Regions from separate parts of the Homo sapiens genome. Here region 2 is linked to region 1. The links are contacts of gene promoters, found by promoter capture Hi-C in blood cells and fetal thymus (Javierre and others, 2016). All regions are on one chromosome and are shown on one strand. The core of a region is centred on a gene start or on the middle of the fragment in contact, and the rest is flanking DNA. Distances in the headings are between cores, read along the strand shown.

Evidence for each region. Contacts are between HindIII fragments. The CHiCAGO score rates a contact against its expected background, and 5 or more counts as called.
Region 2: the fragment with the promoter of MCFD2 here is called in contact with the fragment with the promoter of MSH6 in region 1 in 8 of 17 cell types (neutrophils, naive CD4 T cells, total CD8 T cells and 5 more); the score reaches 12.5 in neutrophils.

Annotation. Positions count from the first base shown.
Region 1 is chr2:47,780,197-47,786,911 of GRCh38, forward strand. MSH6 (mutS homolog 6) reads left to right here and starts at 2,949. Exons shown (of 10, transcript NM_000179.3): 1 at 2,949-3,297. The coding sequence starts at 3,038. RefSeq lists silencers at 1,190-1,371, 2,522-3,001, 3,282-3,441, 3,642-3,731 and an enhancer at 2,322-2,391. The HindIII fragment of the contact is 5,497 bases long and covers 1-4,606 here.
Region 2 is chr2:46,911,836-46,918,550 of GRCh38, forward strand. MCFD2 (multiple coagulation factor deficiency 2, ER cargo receptor complex subunit) reads right to left here and starts at 3,971. Exons shown (of 4, transcript NM_139279.6): 1 at 3,888-3,971. It also overlaps a transcript of TTC7A not described here. RefSeq lists a silencer at 3,958-4,037 and an enhancer at 4,041-5,015. The HindIII fragment of the contact is 10,556 bases long and covers 1-6,715 here.

The DNA of each region.
Region 1 (6,715 bases), core at 1,699-4,198:
GTGCCGGTAATCCCAGCTATTCAGGAGGCTGAGGAAGGAGAATTGCTTGAGCTTGGGAGGTGAAAGTTGTGGTGAGCTGAGACTGCACTACTGCACACCAGTCTGGGAGACAGAGTAAGACCCTGTCTCAAAACAAAACAACCAAAAAACCAAAAAGGTCCAGCTTGGGCAACATAGTGAAACTTCGTCTCTACAGAAAATTTTTAAAATACTAGCAGGGCACCGGGCACAGTGGCTCATACCTGTAATCCCAGCACTTTGGGAGGCTGAGGCAGGCGGGTCACTTGTGGTCAGGAGTTTGGGATCAGGCAGGCCAACATGGTGAAACCGTGTCTCTACTAAAAAACAAAAATTAGCTGGGCATGGTGGTAGGCACCAGTAATCCTAGCACTCAGGAGGCTGAGGCATGAGAATTGCCTGAACCCGCAAAGCAGGGGTTGCAGTGAACCAAGATGGCGTCACTGTACTCCAGCCTGGGTGACAGAATAAGACTCCTCAATTAAAAAAAAAAAAAATTAGCTGGGCATGGTGTTGCGGGCCTGTGGTCCCAGGTACTCAGGAGGCTGAGGTGAGAGGATTACTTAAGCCTGGGAGGTTGAGGCTACAGTAAGCCAAGATCACGCCACTATACTCCAGCCTCTGTGACAGAGCCAGACCCTGTCTCAAAAAAATTTTAAAAAGGGCAAATTTTGGCAATTTCACATAGTTCAACCTAGTATAAGGTGGTTGTAATAACTAAATGAGATAAAATGGTGTTAAATTGGAAGTATTATAGTATTTCTGTTAACAACATAGGGCTCCAGAACCAGCTTCCTTGAGTTTAAATCCAGGCTCCACCACTTCCTAGCTATGCAGTCATGGGCAAGTTACTTGACCCAACTGTGCCTCAGCTTCATCCATGATATGGAGATACAGGATAACCAGCCTCTTACGTGCAATTCTGAAATCCAAAAAGCTCTGTAAACCAAAAGTTTGGGGGTAAACTCATTTGGTAGCAAATTTTGACCTGAGGCTATTTATAGTCTATATTCTGTATTCTTTCTACTTAGTATGAATAAGCATGTAAGTTTTACTGCATGTTTGATTTCAGCATGTTCCCCCAGACTCTCTGGGGGTGTTTACGTATGCCGGTGGGGGAAAGAGACCAACTCTCAAATATTATCTCAAACAGTTGGTTTCACTGTGCTTGCTTGGGTAGCACATATACCAAAATTGGAATGACCCCTGCACAGGGATGAAATGCAAATTCGTGAAGCATACTGTATTTTTCTTAGCACATACCACCTTTGGCAATATTCTTTTTTTTTTTTTGAGAGGGAGTCTTGCTCTGTCGCCCAGGCTGGAGTGCAGAGGCGCGATCTCGGCTCACTGCAAGCTCCGCCTCCCGGGTTCACACCATTCTCCTACCTCAGCCTCCCCAGTAGCTGGGACTACAGGCGTGTGCTACCACGCCAGGCTAATTTTTTGTATTTTTAGTAGAGGCGGGGTTTCACTGTGTTAGCCAGGATGGTCTCGATCTCCTGACCTCGTGATCCGCCCACCTCCGCCCCCCCCCCGAAGTGCCGAGTGCTGGGACTACAGGCGTGAGCCACTGCGCCCGGCCCCCGCCTTTTTTTTTTAGATTGATTTTATTACTTGCCTAGCAAAGGAGAACCTTCTGGCAGAACAGTCTCCAAGAACAAGGCAAACAACTAATTTTACATAGGTTTTTACCAATGTACAGCTGTTGATTGTGACTGGTTTCCGGCAATCTGGATTTCACAATCTGGATAAGGGGACAAACAATTGTCTGTCTTCCACTATCTTTCTTGAATTTGAATAGAACCTTTTTATTCTCATAGCCTCTTAGCTTTCTTTCTTTTTTTTTTGAGACGGAGTTTCGCTCTTGTCGCCCAGGCTGGAGTGCAGTGGCGCGACCTTGGCTCACTGCAAACGCTGCCTCCCAGGTTCAAGTTATTCTCCTGCCTCAGCCTCCCAAGTAGCTGGGATTACAGGCGCATGCCACCACGCCCGGCTAATTTTTGGATTTTTAGTAGAGACGGGGGTTTCACCATGTTGACTAGGCTGGTCTTCAACGCCTGACCTCAGGTGATCCGCCCGCCTCGGCATCCCAAAGTGCTGGGATTACAGGCGTGAGCCACTGCGCCCGGCCTCTCATAGTCTCTTAGCTTTCTAAAATTTGAAAAATCCTGTAAAGACACACCTGGGTCAAAGGGCTCAGATAACGGACTGTGGCCCTTAAGTACTTACGTCACAGGTTATTGAGAGGATCGATTTAGTTACCAGATGTAAAATGCTGGGATCAGTGCCTGGCAAAGGAAAACTTTGTACAGCTGCAGGCTTTCACCATACACAACAGCATCGCTAACGAATGCTATTACAATATTCATTTAGCGTTTACCAAGTGCCTACTCTATACAAATCTTGAGAATACAACGTGAAGGTGAACTGCTGACTAAAGTTTGGTCCCTTTCGCTCCGTCTCCTTGCGAAAATGCTCTAACGGCAGGAGGTCACGCGAGCGCTGGACGCGTTTCTCCCCGCGAGCCCCTTTCCGAGGCCTTTCGGGTCCCCCCGGTTATCCCCGCCCGGGCGGTGCGCGCCCCCGCTGTTCCCGCTTCCGCTCCAGAGAGGCAGGGCTTTCCGAGCCTGCTAGCCCCGCGGCCGCAACTAACCCCGGGTCGGAGTGTTCCGGCCCGGCCAGCCCCGCGGCGTGAGGGAAGGGGAGCTCAGCAGTTCCCCGCGCGGGGCCCAGGCGTCGGCGGCAGGGCGGGCCCCTCACCGCCAGCGTGCCAGCCCCGCCCCTACCCACCAGTGTGCCAGCCCCGCCCTTCCCCACGTCGCCGCGCGCCCGGGGGCGGGGCCTGGCGCGCACCGCCCGCGCACGGCGAGGCGCCTGTTGATTGGCCACTGGGGCCCGGGTTCCTCCGGCGGAGCGCGCCTCCCCCCAGATTTCCCGCCAGCAGGAGCCGCGCGGTAGATGCGGTGCTTTTAGGAGCTCCGTCCGACAGAACGGTTGGGCCTTGCCGGCTGTCGGTATGTCGCGACAGAGCACCCTGTACAGCTTCTTCCCCAAGTCTCCGGCGCTGAGTGATGCCAACAAGGCCTCGGCCAGGGCCTCACGCGAAGGCGGCCGTGCCGCCGCTGCCCCCGGGGCCTCTCCTTCCCCAGGCGGGGATGCGGCCTGGAGCGAGGCTGGGCCTGGGCCCAGGCCCTTGGCGCGCTCCGCGTCACCGCCCAAGGCGAAGAACCTCAACGGAGGGCTGCGGAGATCGGTAGCGCCTGCTGCCCCCACCAGGTAGCGGGGTGGGGGTGGGGTCGAAGGCGGGGGCATAGCGGCGGGGCGCTTGGAACCCGGCGAGGGGAGGCTCGCACAGGGGGTTGGGGGGGTGCACGGCCTGGCCCTGGGCTCGGAGGAGGCGGGGCCGCAGAGTTGGCTTGAATGAGTGCAGGGGTCGAGTCTGGAGCATTTGGGGGTGTAGCTTGTAAACAGGGTCGGAGGAGAGAGGCTGTGCAGGAAGAGGGCTGCAGGGGAGACGCGGAGAGTTCGGGCCTTTTGGAGGGAGGAGACGCGTCCCGCCAGGTGGGGGTGCTGGGCTAAGGAAGGGGCGACGCGCGCAGCTCCGGGTGGGGAGGGGGCCTGGGAGGTGGGAGCACTGGGGGTGGGGCGAGAAGGGGAAGGCGCCCGGCCCACTTGGTGGGCGGGGCGGGGGGCGGGGTGGCGGGAAGGAGGAATGCCTGCGGGAGGCCGAACGGGGAGAGTCCGGTGGTGTGGGGTGCGAAAGGAGGTTCCTCGGCCGGCGCGGAGATAGTGAGTTGGGGCTCCAGTAGTCGATCGAGGTAGACACTTAGAGGTAGTTAAGAGCCGCGGTCGCCGAGACGCCTTGGGGACGGTGGGCCTTCGGCCTAGGTGAGGGGCCGCCGAGGGGGTGGGCCACGAGCTGCGAGCGCGGGGGGGTGTGTCACCATGGGGACCGCGGGGCCTAATTGGGCGGGGCGGGGCCGTGGGGAGCCGAAGTGCTGGGATCCGGCTGGGTCCTTCGGTAGGTAGGCTGCACGTGCACCGAGACGAAGATAGAATATTTTGACGTATGTGGAAATTCGTGTCGAGTGGAAAATATTTTATTTTATGAAATAGTGTAATTTTTATGGGGCACCACTGGGCTTTTAGAGGCCTTAATCGGGCGCTGGACAAAGATGTGTGGACGTGAGTGACTCCGGGGAAGCCTGTCGGGAGTTGTCCTCACTTTATGGGCAGTTAAGTGCTTTTTTTTTTTTTTCCTTTTTGAGAGAGAGTTTCGCTCAAGTCCAGGCTGGAGTGCAATGGCGCGATCTCAGCTCACCGCAATCTCCGCGTCCCGGCTTCAAGCGATTCCCCAGCTTCAGCCTCCCGAGTAGTCGGGATTACAGGAATGCGCCCCCACACCCCGCCAATTTTGTATTTTTAGTAGAGACGGGGTTTCTCCATGTTGGTCAGGCTAGTCTCGGAATTCCCGACCTCAGGTGATCCACCCGCCTCGGCCTCAAAGTGCTGGGATTACAGGCGCTAGCCACCGCGCCCGGTCTGTTTAGGGCTTTTTATCCGGGCAGCTGGCGACATTTTGAAAAGCTTGCTTTTGCTGTTTGCCAGATACATATATATGTATTTTGAGACAGAGTCTTGCTCTTTTGTCCAGGCTAGAGTGCAGTGGCGCGTTCTTGGCTCACCACAACCTCTGTCTCTGGATCAAGAGATTATCCTGCCTCAGCCTCCCAAGTAGCTGGGACTACAGGTGCGCCCCACCACGCCTGGCTAATTTTTGTATTTTTAGTAGAGACGGGTTTCACTATGTTGGCCAGGCTGGTATCGAACTCCTGACCTCTTGATCGGCCCGCATTGGCCTACCAAAGTGCTGGGATTACAGGCATGAACCACCGAGCCCGGCCGTTTGTCAGATACTAAACACAAAGTTTAATGGTCGCTATTTGAACAAACGAAGAAATAAAGGCTCAGAAAAAATAACTCATTCAAGATAAGAGCCAGTTCGTGTTTTTTGTTTGGTTTTGTTTTGAAATGGAGTCTCGCTCTGTCGCCCAGGCTGGAGTGCTGTGGCGCTTTCTCGGCTCACTGCAACCTCTGCCCGCCGGGTTCAAGTGATTCTCCTGCCTCAGCTTCCCGAGTAGCTGGGATTACGGGTGTGCCCACCGCGGTCCGGCTGATTTTTCACCATGGAGTTTCACCATGTTGGCCAGGCTGGTCTTGAAACTGCTGACCTCAAGTGGTCCACCCACTTCAGCCTCCCAAAGTGCTGGGATTACAGGTGTGAGCCACCGTGCCCGGCCGCTAGTTAGTGGTTTTGAGTAATGGATTTCAAATCCATTTAAATCCAGTTTAAAGTGTCCTAAAGGAATTCTGAGATTTTTCTAAGTGTAATTATAGTGTTACCCTTGTTTAAGCGACCCTTTCCCGCAGTTTAAATATATATAGTTGTGCATTAGTAGAATATGCTTGTGGGGAACAGAGCCAGCATCCGCAATAACAAACTCCTGGTTAGAAAAGCATGACGTATTGTTTACTTGAGCATGAATTGATTGTTGAATCCAAACCAAACGGGTGTATTTATTGTAAGGATGTACTTTACATTCATATTGAATAGCGTATGTTATTTGTTTCTTGAGGTTGAGTTTAAGAGACTTGTAAAAATAAAACGTATACATTTCACCTCCCGTTATGGAGAGGATTCCAGGGTATTCAAGAAAGATGGGCATTTGATACTAGGTTTCTAAAGAAACTGCAGTGTCTAGATCACTCTGCCGAGCACAGCATTAGGCATTATGGATCCTGGATACAACCATGAACAGGACAAAGCAAAGAGGCAATTGTAGACTCCAAGTGGAAAGGGGACGGAGAGGATGCGGGTCAGGCTAGGCTCTCAGCTCTGTAAACCGAAACCAGAAGGACAAATAAGCTTAGACAGATTATAGTGAGAGTGGGAAGCTGGTTCAGGAAGAGGAAGGTCTGCAAATTGTGGGTAGGATGAAAGGAGGAGGAGGGAGCATTGGAGAAGTTAAGCAGAGATCCAATCATGAACAGTCTGATGAGCTACAGAGACATTCGGACTTACTCCATGAATCATTTAAGCCTTAAAACATGTTGAGCGTATTTTTTTTTTTTTTGAGACGGAATTTCACTCTTGTTGCCCAAGCTGGAGTGCAGTGGTGTGGTCTCAGCTCACTGCAACCTCCGCCTCCTGGGTTCCAGCGATTCTCCTGCCTCATCCTCTCAAGTACCTGGTATTACAGGTGCCTGCCACCACGCCCAGCTAATTTTTGTGTTTATAGTAGAGACGGGTTTCACCATGTTGGTCAGGCCAGTCGTGAACTCCTGACCTCAGGTGATCCACCCACCTCAGCCTCCCAAAGTGTTGGGATTACAGGCGTGAACCACCGCACCTGGCCGTGAGCCACCGTGTCTGTCCGAGCATCTTTTAATGTTTGTCATTTAGATTTCTTCTTGTGCTGAAGTGTTTGTCTTTTGCTGTTTCTTTTTTTTTTCCTAGTTCTTTGTCATTTGTGTGTGATATAAATGTCTTCTTTCACAATGAGTTCTTTCATTTAGTTTATGGCTTTGTTGTTGTTGTTGAATAATAGAGGTCTCACTTTGTTGCCCAGGCTGGTGTTGAACTCTTGCTCTCAAGCGATCCTCCCACTTCAGCCTCCCAACCTGTTGGGATTAC
Region 2 (6,715 bases), core at 2,721-5,220, 870 kb before region 1:
GAATGGCATGAACCCGGAGGTGGAGCCTGCAGTGAGCCGAGATCTGCTACCATTTTTTATGAATATGTATTCAATGTAATCTATCCCATAATTTTGTCCCAATACTATATGGATCGGATACAAAAGGAGTTTCCGGTTAATTCTTATCTCCACAAAATAATTCAGAAACAGTCAGAAACTACACTTCCAATTTTACCAAATAAAAGTGCCCAGACCTTGGCCAGGGACAGTGGCTCACATCTATGATCCCAACACTTCGGGAGGCCGAGGCAAGTGGATCACTTGAGGTCAGGAGTTTGAGACCAGCCTGGCCAATGTGGCAAAATGCGTCTCTACTAAAAATACAAAAAAAAATTTGCTGGGCATGGTGGCGTGCACCTGTAATCCCAGCTATTTGGGAGGCTGAGGCACAAGAATTGCTTGAACCCGGGAGGCAGAGATTGCAGTGAGCCAAGATCACACCACTGCACTCCAGCCTGGGCAAGAGAGTGAGACTGTCTCAAAAAAATTTTTTAAACGTGTCCAGACCCTGACAAGGCCACTGCCACTGTACCTGGTACCACAAAACAAGGTTTCAGGTTACTCCTAGCAGTGACTGCCTAGGCCATAGCAGAACAACTTGTTCTGACCACACATCTTAGAGTTCTGGGACAGGAAGGATCAGAGAAGGGAATCAAGCTCCTCCCAAGCCTTTCAGACTCATTTACATCAAATGTCTCTTTCTCCAGTGAGGTCTTTTCAATTCCAAGTCTGGTGTAGGTATTCGTCCTGCAGGCTCCCAAGTGCTTCCCTTCAGAAGGCTCCCGTCCACAGCTGATGACAGCTGCAAATTAATTCTTTTTTTTCTTTTGTTTTCTTGTGTGTGAATGAATTCTTGAAAAACTGCCTGATTACTTGTCAGTGCCCCTTGCTGGATGGGCTTTAAGAGGACTTGGACTGAATCCACATTCCCAGTATCAGGCACAGTGCCTGGAACAGAAGCTGCTGGTTCTTAGCCTGTGTGCCATGGTCCTTGGGGAGCTGGGGGGATTACCACCTTTGCAGATATGCTGCCAATTTTTAATGTCACTGTAACTGAAGATGAAACTTTTCTTTTGGAGATATCTATCATGGAACTCATGGCACCATTTCCTCCAACTATGTGATTGGATGCTTAGTATATCAATTTGGTGTGTGTGTGTTGGGGGTGGGGGAAATTCTATTTAGATAACACCAAAAAGCAACCAAGTGATTAATCATGTAGTAACTATGAGTCCAAAATATCCCTTCTTTAAGGGAGGTGGGATAAAGGCCAAGAATCACTGATTTTGAACTTGTCTCATTTTGGTTTGCTGTTGCAGGTTTCTAATCATTGGAATGCAACAAAAGCCAAATCGATAAACATAAAGAAAAAAAATTCCTCCAAGTGGTACACTGAAAACAGGGAATCGGGCTGGGCATGGTGGCTTATGCCTGTAATCTCAATACTTTGAGAGGCTGAGGCAAGTGAATCACTTGAGCCCAGGAGTTCAAGACCAGCCTGGACAACATGGTGAGACTCCCTCTCTAATTAGAAAAAGAGAGAGAGAGAGAGGAAGAAAGGAAAGAAGGCAGGCGAGGGAGGGAAAGATAGAAAACAGGGAATCTAACTGCCACCTAACAAATTAAACTGCTGACAGTCAAGAGAAAGCATAAGCAACTCCCTCTACCCAAATAACAGGTTGCATCATCCATGCTCTAACTACTTAGCTCAAGGCCATGGGCTAACAGCCTGAAGATAAGCCCCAGCTCACTGGCCTTCTTTAGGAAATTATAAAGGCCAGGCTGAAGAAAAACCCAACGGAGGAGAAATTTCTGCAAAGGGACTTCAGGGCACAACCCATACCTTGAGACAGCCCTCACAAGGCGCAGCCTCAGTCCTGGGAGGGCAGTGCTGGACCATCAGGAGCAGTGCGCCTCCCAGTGCCTTGGCTGTCACAGTGCTCCCCTCCTGCTCTGCCAGCCTCTTCCTGTACCACAGCCTCCGCTCCTACTGGTTCCATCTGTCCATCTCCAACTTCCTTCCAGGACAGGTTCAAATGTCACCTCAGGATTCTTCCAGCCAAGACCAATTGCTCTCTCATCCGACCTCAGTCTGTAGCCTCTCACACTCATTTGACCTGAACATACGATCACAGGTTGTTCTCCTTTTCCATTTTTCTCTTTTCCTCCCTCTCTGAGAGTCAGGACCCTCTCTCCTCTGGCTCTCATTTACCTTACTGATCTCTGCTGAGCTGACCTGGCTCATCGCTGAATCAGGGAAGTGAGTCTTGGCACCTAGGTGTATTGTTCCCTATCCCACAGCGGATCTAGCCTAAGCTGGAACTTCCTTTGGAGGCTTCCAGTGGTTTGACCTGGCCCAACCCTTTCTTCCTGGTGTGTCATCAGTCCTATCAGCACTAAGTTTGGGGCCAGCCTTCCTGCCAGCAGCTAGTAGCAGCTTCTCCCTCAAGGGGCCCTTGGTTAAGAATTCAAACCCAAAGCAGCCAAACTCACCAACATCCAGACATCCTGTACCCACAGCCAATGCCAAAGAAAAACTGACCAGTACTTTGTCACTTACCCCTGTCATGGTCCTGGAATGAAGGCAAGAAAATAACCAACTTCCTAAGCTAAAGAAACCTCTACACGGACTGAGGGTTGAGAATTGGTTCTGAAAAAGCAGGCATTTAATATTAATAACTTGATCTATTTGTTCATCTAGGGAGCCCAAGGAGCACCCATGCTGCATTTATACATTTAATGACCGTACTAACAGCACAAGGTACTGAAGATAGTACTATGACCTCGACAAACTCCTCTCACACAGATTACAACCTGGTAGAAAAGAGAGACCGGCAGGCAGACACCCATGGGGTACCACGAAATCCCCAACTGACACCTGAAATAACACATAAAGGATAAGAAGGATTATTTCAACCAAAGGACAGTGCCTCAGACATAGCGAACATACTGAAGGAACATGTAAGCCCAGAAGGAACTTGTTCTGATCTAAGAACCAAAAAAGATTCAGTATGGTTGAAGACACAGTACAGTCGAGACAAATGAATCTAAAGTTAAAGGAAGACAGGTCATGAAGGGCTTTGCAAGCCCCGTTCAAGAGCTTGGAAGAGCAATGAGAATCCACCAAAGGGTGATAAGGGAATGGGGGGACGCTTCTGGTCACATGATCAGATTTCTGTTTTAAGACCATGGCTGTAGCCTCTCTGTATAGAACAAACTACAGAGGATGAAGAAGAGATGCAGGGATCATCAGGAAGACACCGAGGTAGTCCAGAGAAGAAAAGGTGGCCTGAACTAGGTAGGGCAGGGGGATGGGACTGGAGAATGAACGTATCCAAGACAACTTTGCAAGGGATTCGATGTGGGTGGGTAAAGGAGTGAAGCAAGTGAGAATGATGCCCAATTCTGGCTTGGGCACCCGGGTGGATGGCCATGCCCAGAGAGGGAATACAACAGGAGATCAGCTTCCCCCGCCGGGCCCGACAGGACCTGTGGTCTCCCCGAGAGAGGGAACAAGGAGCAGAGGGAGAGTAAGGCTTCCGGCCCGCTGCTTTTGGGCCGGGCCAGGAGCAGTGTCCACCCGACACAGCTGGTCCCACAGGCCGATCCTCGGGCCCCTAGGGACCAGGGAAGGGGGCGGAGATCTGCCCAGTCGGCCCCGTCTGGCTCCAGAGCCCCCGGTGGGGCACAGGCTTCCGCCCCGGGAGACAGGCCGTGCTCCTAGCCGGTTAAGCGTCCCGAGACGGCCTGGGGGCCCAGCCCGCGCCCCCAGACTACTCCTGCCTCTCATCTTGAGCCCAAGCCTCCAGCCCACAGGAGAGGCGCCGGGATCCCGCCCGCTGCGGAGAGTGCGCTAGTTCACTCACCCTTACGGTCTCCGAAGCAGACGCGAAGCCCTCCAACGTGAGCCTCACCAGCCCCCGTCCCCAAAACGCTCTTCCTCGGCTTCGCCCCGCCCCCCCCCCCCCCCCGACCTGCCCTGCGCACGCGCGCTCCCTGCCGCCCGCCCATTGGCGCCGCCGGGCCCCTCCCGCTGGCGGCGGCGGGCTGTGAGGACGGCTCGCGTGAGTCCACGTGTAATCGGCCCGGGCCCAGCACTGGCGGGACTGACGCAGTTCTTCTACCTGCTTTCCCAAGGGCGACACTCGGCTCCACTCCAGTTGGGCCGCTGGACGCCCTAGGGGCCCGGCAGTTGCTAGGCAACGCCGGAAGCCCTCAGGAACGTAGTTCCACGGGCGACGTAGGATGGCGGATCCGGATGGGGCGGACCCCAAAGCTGGCTCCCAACTCCGCTCACCCCCTCCTATACAGGGCTCTTGGTTCAGGTCTCTTGGTTCGTCCTGCTGCAAGTTGGGAAGAAAGATAATAGGAATGCTAATTCCTTCTTGATGAAACGACCACAACACGCTGGAGCCGGCCTTGGACCCTACGTTTCAAGATTGGCCTGCTTCCAGCGTCTGCCAGCTCCACTGCACAAGCTGCGGCAGCCGCTGTCCCCGTTCGCTTCCACGGGAGTCCCAGCAAGACTATGCGACCCAGTTCAAATACCATCTTCCATGTACCGTTCGTGAAATCAGCAGCTTTTGACATTCAAGAGAGGACAGATTACTTAAAAACAGACTCATGAACAAATAGGGAAACGAATACATCATCCCTGTATCGAATTCATCCCTGTATAATCCTGCCCTTACACCTGTGCTCCTATACAAGATTAACATTCAGTAAGTATCCATTGACCTGATGGATAAATGAGTGTAGGACGGTCGTTTTGTTTTTTTGTTTTGTTTTGTTTTGTTTTGAGACGGAGTCTCGCTCTGTCCCAGGCTGGAGTGCAGTGGTGGGATCTCGGCTCACTGCAACCTCCGCCTCCCAGGTTCAAGCTCTTCTCCTACCTCAGCCTCCCGAGTAGCTGGGATTACAGGCGCGTGCCACCTTGCCCGGCTAATTTTTGTATTTTTAGTAGAGACGGGGTTTCACCGTGTTGGCCAGGCTGGTCTCTAACTGCTGACCTCTTGATCCTCCCGCCTCAGCCTCCCAAAGTGCTGGGATTACAGGCGTGAGCCACCACTCCCGGCAGGACGGTCGTTTTTTTTAAAGCCCTTCTCCCATTTCTGTCCATAAAGGTACATAATCGTTTTTCAAATGAGCCTGGGTCCGGACAGGAAAGACAAAGAAAGTGGCTAAGTAGTTAGATGCCTTGAAAGTTGCCTAACGCCACTGCCATTGACGGTCTCATTCCTTTTCCCACCTTCATCTGAGATTGAAATCTGCCACCCCATCCCAGAGAAAAATCCCATAATCCCTAATTTTTTTTTCTTTTTTTAAAGAAAAGAGTCTCCATGGTGCCCAGCTCGTCTCGAACTCCTGGGTTCAAGCAATCCTCCCACCACCTCCGCCTCCCAAAGTGCTGGGATTACAGGGGTGAGCCACCGCGCCGGGACAAAGAATCCCTAAGTTTTGAGGAAACCCTATTAATTCAAGACCCATTCTTCTTTCCTTACTCTGAACTTTGGATTAGTTTGATCTAGTTCCTCCTTCTACCCTGCATCTGCCATTCATCCATCTCTTCATCCATTCATCCACCCCTCCCTTTGTTCATTTATTCATTCAATAACATTTCTTGAATATCTTCTATGTACTAGGCGCTCTACTAGGAGCTACTAGAGATACAAATAAGACAAATGAAGTGTCAAGAAGCTGGTGTCTGGTAGATGGATAAAGTGTCCTCATTCTAGCCAGTGCTTTCATTTTTTTCCTATGGATGTTATCCTGTGTTATGTCTCTCTTGAATCTACAGTCACTCCCTCTCTACCAGATAATTCCCATCAACATATAAACTTGCTGTATTTTCTCCCCCACCATACCACTGAAACTGCAATCTCCATGCAAATCTAGTGGTCTCTTTGATCTCTTGTTTTTATTTTACTTGCCCTCTCAACACTGTTTTATCAAAGCCAACCACTCTCACTTAGAAACACTTTCTTCTCTTGTTTTCTGACACCACACACTCTGGGTCCTTCTGCTACCTCACTCATTATCCTTTCTTGGGCTTCTTAATTGGCTTCTCAATCTATAATTATCAAAGTGTCCAGGGTTCTGTTCTGAGTCACCTTCTCTATCCACCCTCCCTATGTGAGTTTACCTAGTCCTGTGCTTTAGATACCATTTATAAATAGATGACTCCAAAATATGTCTCTCTGACAATGACCTCTCTGTGTAATTCCTGGCTCCTGTAAATAACTGCCTACTTGATGTCTCCATATGAATGTCAGACTGGCATCTCAAACTTAATGTGTCCCCCCAAAATCTTGATTTTCACCCCCAAACCTGCACCTCTCTCAGTCTTGTGCATTTTAGTAAATGTCACTGGTACTCATTCTGTTGTTCAAGCTAAAATTCTACGAGCTGTTTTTGATTTATCTCATCCCTTTACCTTTAAATCCTTCAGCAAAGCCTGTTGATGCTATCAAAATGTATCCTGAGTCTTTGACTTCTTTCCACCTCCACTAAACCATCTAGTCCAGTAGTAGATGATGCTGCTGGACTACTTGAGAGAGAGCTTCCTAACTGACCGTCCTGCTTCCATTCTTGCCCTACTGTAGTCCATAAGTGAGAAGCCACCTTTGATTAAGCCATTTTATAGGTGGGTGTTCTGTAACTTGTAGCTGAACCCATTCCTAACAGGCAAATAATT